Regions from separate parts of the Homo sapiens genome. Here region 2 is linked to region 1. The links are contacts of gene promoters, found by promoter capture Hi-C in blood cells and fetal thymus (Javierre and others, 2016). All regions are on one chromosome and are shown on one strand. The core of a region is centred on a gene start or on the middle of the fragment in contact, and the rest is flanking DNA. Distances in the headings are between cores, read along the strand shown.

Region 1 (4,093 bases), core at 1,379-3,878:
TTCTTCCCAAAGCTATTATTCCTCCTGTGTTTCTTTAAAGGCACCCGGAACTGTGAGCATGATTTTGCCTTCTCTTTGGCCCATACCTAGTGCTGCAGCTCTGCATTATTTTCAGAGACTTCTGGCCAGTGGTCTCTGGGAACAAGGCAGAGTGAGGGTTTATGGTGTGGGTTTTGCTTTTGTTTTACTTTTTAGCAAGAGAAGTTAACTTGGGTATGAACTGAAAACGGGCATTACCATTACACAATAACACGTATGTCATGATAATGCCTGGCTAAACATCTTCTCTGGCTGAAGCAGCAGTTCCAGATTTTTCACAATTTGTTTCATTTTATGTGAATCAGCAGGGTAGGAAAAAATACACGAATCTTGAAGACATACAGATACGGACTCAACTCCAGATGTCATCACTTATTTTACTTTTCTCAAGCTCAGATTCCTTACATTTGAAATAATAATAAGCTACCTCATAAGGTTAAGATTAAATGAGGTACACAAAGTACTGATTCTATGTATGCTCTAAGTATGTGTTGAATGAATTAAAGAATAAATGTTCCCCTACCTGGAATACCTCTTCTCCCAGCTAACTCTGTTTTTGTTTTTGTTTTGTTTTTTTTTTTTTGAGACAAGATCTCACTCTGTTGTCCAGGCTGGAGTGCAGTGGTGCAATTTCGGCTCACTGCAACAACCTCTTACCTCAGCCTCTGAGTAGCTGGGACCACAGGCGCACACAACCACACCTGGCTAATTTTTTGTATCTTTTGTAGAGACAGGGTTTCACCATGTTGCCTCAAACTCCTAGGCTCAAGCGATCCTCCTACCTCAGCCTCCCAAAGTGCTAGGATTGCAGGCAAGAGCCACCACGCCTGGCCCAGCTGTCCACTCACCCTTTAAAAATGGATTGCAACCATCCTTAATTTCCCCAGAATTATGTGTCCCACTTTGTTTCTGAAGCTCAGCGCATACCTGTTTATCACATACACTGTAATTACTGATGTCCTTGTTGTTCAAGTTATGTCCTTGATGTCCAAGTTATATTTTGGTAAATTCCTTAAGGATCATGTTTTATTTGACTTTATATCTGCAGCAATTAGTGTAGTTCCTGACAAATAGGAACCACTATTCCCTTCACTATTTCAATAAATGTTGAATGAATATTTTATACACAGCTAACCAAAGGGCTTGTACCATATGCCCTACTAATTTTATTCTAAGAAAGCACGATGTTCAAATATATTTGAAAAACAGCAGATATTTCAACAATAAACATGTTAATTCTGCTTGGGTCATATGTAATGCCCATGAGAAGAACAAGCATAAATACAGACTCTCTACATAAAGATAATAGCTCATCCTTACTAAGCACTTAAGCTGTGCCATTTACTCTGCTAAGCAATTTACAATTATTTGATTTAATCCAATGACATAACTCTCTGCGGGTTAAGTTCTATTATTTGCCTTATTTTACAAGATATGGGGAAACTGAGCACTAGAGAAATTACATAACCTCAAGATCTCACAAGTAGTAAGCAGTAGTGCCAGGGTTTCAACCCAGACTTCCTGACTCTGGAGCCTCCACTCTTAATTACATGAAACTCAGACTTCTTGGCGGTAAGTGATGCTTCCGAGATGCTTAATGTGGTACTCTGACCCGCAATGAGTGAGCTTCAATGAGAAAAACTATGGATGGACCAACAGCACGTTTTCCCATATTCTATCAAATCGTGAAGATACCAAACTATGAAAGGGTCTACCTGCAAATTAAGTCCTTGAAGACAAGTATATGTATATCCGGGGTTTTCTTCCACATGCTTTCAACACACTACACTTTTGCTCTGGACACAATATCTTAAAAATAAATAAATAAAGCTTTGGCTTTTAATATGAACACAGTAATTATTTTTCTATTACGACCTGAAAACCTAAATACTTAAATACAAAGTCAGCATTTCCAAGACAGCCAAGAGCCAAGAATTAAAAAAAAAAAAAAATTAAGGCCGCATTTATAGTTTTGAGGAATGGAGATCCAAACAAAACAGTCCACAAGTCATCTTGGACGCTGAAGTGTGCAGAACTGCTAGGGCATCTACCCAATCACATGGGGGAATTGCGGGTACCTTGATACCGACAAGTTAGCTTCAAAGTTCCCTTACCCGAGCCTCTAAATCAGCTGAGACCAATCATTGTTAACGCTCTCCGGGGCCGTCTTGAGGACTCCCAGTTGGCAATCTGGAACGTGTCCAGAACTTGGTGGGGCGGGGGGGGGATCATATTTCGTGGAGAATGGGGGAGGTGAGCCCTGGGTATAGGGATAACTTTTTAACTAGCGTTAATTGGGGTCTTTGCGGCCAGGCTGTAAAGATTCCCGCCACACTAATATGAATCAGCCATGGCCTTTTAATTGGAACGCCGGAACTCTGCCTTGTTTTATTAATATCTTAATAACACGTTTCTATAATGGACATGTTGGTTCCTTGTATTTTAAAACGCAGCCACAAACTGAGGCGATAGCGATCACGTTATGCAGTCCCCAATCGTCCAAGCCGAATAGGCTGCATGAAGTATCACTCAAAAACATTCATTACCGTCGGTGTGTTGAGTGGTAACGCCAGTGTGCGAATTCATTAATGGAAATCACGGGACCCCGAGCGGTTGGAGATCTGCCACACCCCTCTGCCTGCGTTAAGACAGCCTGACCCGACCTCTGGTAAATTAATGCGCAAAATGGCGGTTGCACGTCTGTTTCCCCACCCCGGCGCACAATCCTGAGGAAGGACGTCACGTCACCAGGGCAACGACGCTCTTGCGTAAAGGCCCGGCCCAAGGGAACGTTCAGGGCGTCTCGGCTTTCCCCGCTGCTGCTTCTGCTAGGCCCAGTGCGAGACCAGAGCACGAGCGACTCCCGTCGTCCCCGGCCAGGCAGATGTTGGCCTAGTCCTGGCGCGAACGAAGCGCGCTATTTCCCTGCTTCCTCTAGGCCAAGCCTGCTTTACGGCAGGGCCCGCCTCGGGAGCGAGCACAGACCGGGGCAGCGAGGCCAGCCAGGCGCCGACGAGGTCCCCGAACGCGCACGCGCTCCGTTCAGCTCCGGGTGGCGGCCGCCGGAGTAGACGTTAGCCATGGAAACCGAGAGCTGGCCCGGGCGGGGCCGCGGTGAGCTCGTTATTCGGCCGCCGCAGCTTTTCTGCCTCCGCATTCGGGCACTAACCAACCTCCCGGCGGGAGCGCCCAGCCCGAGTTTACCTGCAAAAATGCGGTCCCTGGGATGCCTTCGCGTCTTCTCTTCCCTCGGGTGACTTGAGGTACGTTCGTTGTCCGACGTCCACCTCGGGACTTCTTCGGCATCTTAATGTCCAAGCCTGTGCGGAGAGCCAAGTTGTTCTAGGGGCTTTCATTGCCACAAGAAACATATTTTTCGTTTTTCGTTGCAAAACCTTTAAGTGCAATTATTGCGCTTAATGAACTCAGTCATTAGAGATAGTAATTCAGTGTGATTTTAACTTTCCTTTGAAAGACTACTTTAGCCTGTTGAATTGTAGCATTTTGTTTCTAAGAGACTCGTACGAAATGGAATATGGCACACCCACCCGGAGCTGTGTCCGTTAGGTAGAACTGTACTCTCGCAATATCTCCAACTAAACCTCTTTTGTCCGAATTGTTCAACTCATGGCCCCCTGAACGTGAAGCGCTCCTTCCCCACTGATCTCGACCTCTGTCCCCACAACCTCTTGTCTCTCCAGGACCAGAATTTACTCCAGTGAATCGGAAGTTGTTTTCCATGCCGCTGAATTGGTTATCTGCTCTGTATCCATCATTTTTCACTTACTCATTTTTTACTATTTTTAGGTGTTTGTTTTCTTCATTAAATCATTCCTGCAGTTAGGGCAAAGACTGCCCTTCATGTTATTTGGTATCCACCGCCACTCACGCCAAATCCCCAGACCTTTAGCATAGCATCCAGTTCAGATGTTGCCTTTTCACGAATTTAACTGTTTGTAGCATCTGTTGGCTGCTCCTAAATTTCCTACTTAAAGAGCTGCCTTCTAATTATTAACTGCTGTGGAAAATACCAATCAGGGAAGCTTTTTCTTTT
Region 2 (3,840 bases), core at 113-2,612, 1.5 Mb before region 1:
GGTGGGGGTGCTGTTAGGAGCTGTTCTGCCTAAGGACAAAGCATCAGACTGTGTGATATGAGGGACATGTTCTGGCTCTGCCCAGGAAAGATCTTCAAGCATAAGTTAACACCACTGTAATATATTCAGCCAAGACTCTTTTTCATGCTGGCAACTTTATCTTACTCTCCAGATCATCCAGGCAGCAGGTCCACCCCATCGTTAGTGGTACACTTTCTGAGTGTCAATTAACAGTTTTTCTGAGCAGACAGGCGTGTCCAGGGAAAGCAAAAGAACCAACTAGGGCTGAACAACATTAGAAAGGAGATAATGAAATAGCACTAGTGGAGGAAGAAGTACCAGCACCTGCTTTAAAAAGAAAGGGAAAGAAAAATCAAAACAGTAGGGGGAAGTGAGATTCCGTTGGCAACAGAAGGGAGCAGTAGGCGATCACTTTCAACTGCTTCCGGAATACCTGCAACAAAAACAAAGAATCAAAGAGGAAAGAAAATCCAGGCAACTAGACTGGAGGGGAGAAAATTTGGCTGCTAGCTTAAAAAGAGAATAGGGGCAACCCAGCCTGTCTCACTTAATCTGATGACATTGGGAGTTTTCCTGGAAAAACAATTACAGCATTGAGCTCCTTGCTTCTAACTTCATTTGACAGCCTGAGTTTGTTTTAATTGGCATGTGAATGAACAGCATTATTTATTAATGTGTAATGGATACTTTGGAAAGCATAACCTTTTTTCCTATTCGTGACCATTTTATTGGCGGAACCATCTGAATATATTAGTTTTAATATTTAAACTTGCTGAGAACACTTTTTCATGGAGATATACAAGCTGTTACGGCAAATGGCTTGCTTTGGACTAATGAGCCAGCTCAAAGTGGCATTTGGTGAGGAGGGGGGTTGGGAGGGTGGGGAGGTTTGGAGACATAGCGAGCTTGTCTGCCTGACTTAAGATTTATTAGTAGTGTGTAAAAATGTGTTTCAGCTTTTTTTCCCCCTCAACTATACAAATATAGTTGTCGATGTGTGACATAACACAGGCCACAATAATAGACTCCACCCAGTCAGAGGAATCTAATTCAGAGCTGGAAAGCAAGAAGCTTGTTTAGAAATGAGCAGAATGAAACAATGACAGAGGACATGGGTGAGTGGCATTTGGCAAGCAGGATAAGTCACTATCCTTTCGTGCCTTACTAAAATTAGGGAGGAAAATTAGTTCCTATATTATAAAGTAGTGTTTGGCAACAGCAGGCATAAAGAATAGATAACCTGAAGAGAATCGATTTTGTATGCTTATGAACACCTGACCATAATTCCATTTTTAGAGCTAATATACAACCTTGTTAATTATGAATCAAGTTTGTAGTTCTTTCATGTCTGTGGGAGGCAGCAATGGGGAGGAAAGTGAAAGGTGGCAAGGGAGTTCTTTTGTTTTTGTTTTTTGGTAAATGTCAACTTAATTCTATTTGTAGTAGAGATTAAATGGGTACTATTAAGTTTAAAAGTATGCTAATGAAAAAACAATTTACAACCAATCTACATTCTCGAGTCTCTCTCTAGCAATTGTCAGGTGAATGCTTGCAAGGTAATGTGCTGAATACAGCGATACTAAGAGGGTATTAAAACAGTCCCTGCCTTCAGGAAGCTTTCATAATGTAGATGGAGAGAAGAGATACACATAAACACCTACGTAGATAGATATGCGTGTGCACACCCAGATAAATAACCATACAGGTAGCATGGGATCAGAATCAGATATTTATATAGTTAACTGGAGCTCAAAGGTTGGAAGGGTGGTTAGACCACACAGAGAGGGGAGGAAAGAAGAGGAATTCCTAGCACGGGTAAGCAGATGGGCAAAAGTGCAAGTGTCTGAAATAATGATATAGGATGCACTCTTTCACACAACACTTTGCCTGAACTTCAGCAATTGTGACTTGCTGGATTGAATTTCCGAGGTTCTTGGATGTACTGCTTTTAAAGATATATGTGGTACTTTTCCACAGATAAGCCAGCTAGTGGAATTTTCAGACCCCTATCCCACCGGAAATTTCAGTGGGATAGGGGTCTGGAGTAGTGTGTTCCAAGCAGAGATGACCAATACATGATACTTCAAGAGGGAAGACTTATAAATCCCTCTGGAGAAAAGCTACAACTCATATCACCTTTACTATCTATGTGCTAGCCACGTTGTAAGTGCACAGCCCCCACAATATATAGCATATGCTGCATACTATTATAATTCTTCAACAGCAGGTTCCCATAGCAGCTGCTCCCTTTTACAGTGGGGGGAACGTACACAGAGAAGGGAGTAAGTTGCCCGCACAGCTATTTAGGGGTGAAACTGGGATACAAATCCAGACAGTCTGATTTCTGAGTCAGAGCTCTTATTGTAAACGCAGACTAAGTAATAATAAAAGCTCAAACAAAAACCAAAGCGCGCACGCGCGCGCACTCAAATCGTAGGCTTGTAAAAGAATTGATGCAACCTCTCGCTATACAACGACATCCTCCTGCCTAATTTTAAATGCCGTCCATCGTAAGACCGACGTTAAAAAATTAAAACGACAACAAAACTTAAGTTTTAGAACACTGCATTGTGCTCTGTATTGCTTGCCTTTACAAAGTGGAGTTAAGGAACCAACCCCACAGTGTCTGTGAATACACTTGCAATACCTTGCTTGGGAAGTGAAAGAAACCTAACTCGGTGTGAGTGGAAATGAGGAGTGGCCGTGTGGGGAAAGGGTTAAGACTGTGCTGCAACTTGGTCGAGTTTCAGAAAGTTCTCCGGAGAGCCCAACTGCCGCGTCCCGTCGCGGCCCCTGCCTGCGCGGCCGACTGTAACAGGATGCTGGGGCTCCAGGCGCTCGCCCCGAGCTTTGGGCGACGAGAAAGAGCCAATGAGGAGCGAGGGCAAAATCGGGTGCAGTAAACCCGAAAAGGGGGCGAGGAGGCCCGCGAAGAGAGCGGGGGAGGAGGCGGGGAGGGGCGAGGAGGGGCGGGGAGGGCCGAGCGAGGAGGAGGCGGCTCTGGGGGCCGGGCGGCGCGCCTGACAGAGGAGGGGAAGCCTGGGGGCGCAAGCGTCGCAGCCGAGGGGCCGGCGCGGGGAGGCGGGCGCCAGGCGGGGGTTTGCAGGGCCGCCGCGCGTGACGTAGCGCCGGGCAGGGCGTTATCAGCTGCCGGGCCGCGGCGAGGGACGCGCGGCGACAGCGGACGGCGCTGCCCGGGCCGGGACAGCAGCAGCCGGCGGTCGCGCGCAGGACTCGAGGGCTTCTAGCCACCGTCCCCGCCAGCGCCGCGCCCCGCCACAGGGCGGCATGAGCCCACCCGCGGCCGCAGCCCTAGCGCCCTGCTCCTCCGCCTGGGCGGCCCGGCTGCGGTGACGGCTCTCGCTGCCCGACTGGGGGCCATGAAGCCGAGTCCGGCCGGGACGGCGAAGGAGCTGGAGCCTCCGGCGCCGGCCCGAGGCGAGCAGCGCACGGCGGAGCCCGAGGGGCGCTGGCGGGAGAAGGGCGAGGCAGACACCGAGCGGCAGCGCACCCGGGAGCGGCAGGAGGCCACGCTGGCCGGGCTGGCGGAGCTGGAGTACCTGCGCCAGCGCCAAGAGCTGCTGGTCAGGGGCGCCCTGCGCGGCGCCGGGGGTGCGGGAGCCGCTGCGCCCCGCGCTGGGGAGCTACTGGGGGAGGCGGCGCAGCGCAGTCGCCTGGAGGAGAAGTTCTTGGAGGAGAACATCTTGCTGCTAAGAAAGCAATTGGTAGGTCGTGCCCGAAGGTGGAGCACGGCTGTTCCTGCCCAGGGGCTGGAGGTCGGGCAGGTGGCCTGGGGCGGGCGCGAGGTTGACTCTGGCT

Evidence for each region. The method cuts DNA at HindIII sites, captures the fragments that hold promoters and counts their contacts. A CHiCAGO score of 5 or more calls a contact.
Region 2: a fragment that was not itself captured here is called in contact with the fragment with the promoter of PCNX4-DT in region 1 in 1 of 17 cell types (naive B cells); the score reaches 5.7 in naive B cells.

What each region holds. Positions count from the first base shown.
Region 1 is chr14:60,089,118-60,093,210 of GRCh38, forward strand. It overlaps PCNX4-DT (PCNX4 divergent transcript), which reads right to left and starts at 2,629. Exons shown (of 5, transcript XR_943918.4): 1 at 2,586-2,629. PCNX4 (pecanex 4) reads left to right here and starts at 2,806. Exons shown (of 11, transcript NM_001330177.2): 1 at 2,806-3,302. RefSeq lists enhancers at 2,627-2,756, 2,847-3,036, 3,000-3,633. The HindIII fragment of the contact is 2,213 bases long and covers 1,868-4,080 here.
Region 2 is chr14:58,634,802-58,638,641 of GRCh38, forward strand. DACT1 (dishevelled binding antagonist of beta catenin 1) reads left to right here and starts at 3,161. Exons shown (of 4, transcript NM_001079520.2): 1 at 3,161-3,746. The coding sequence starts at 3,402. RefSeq lists a silencer at 2,952-3,661. The HindIII fragment of the contact is 545 bases long and covers 1,091-1,635 here.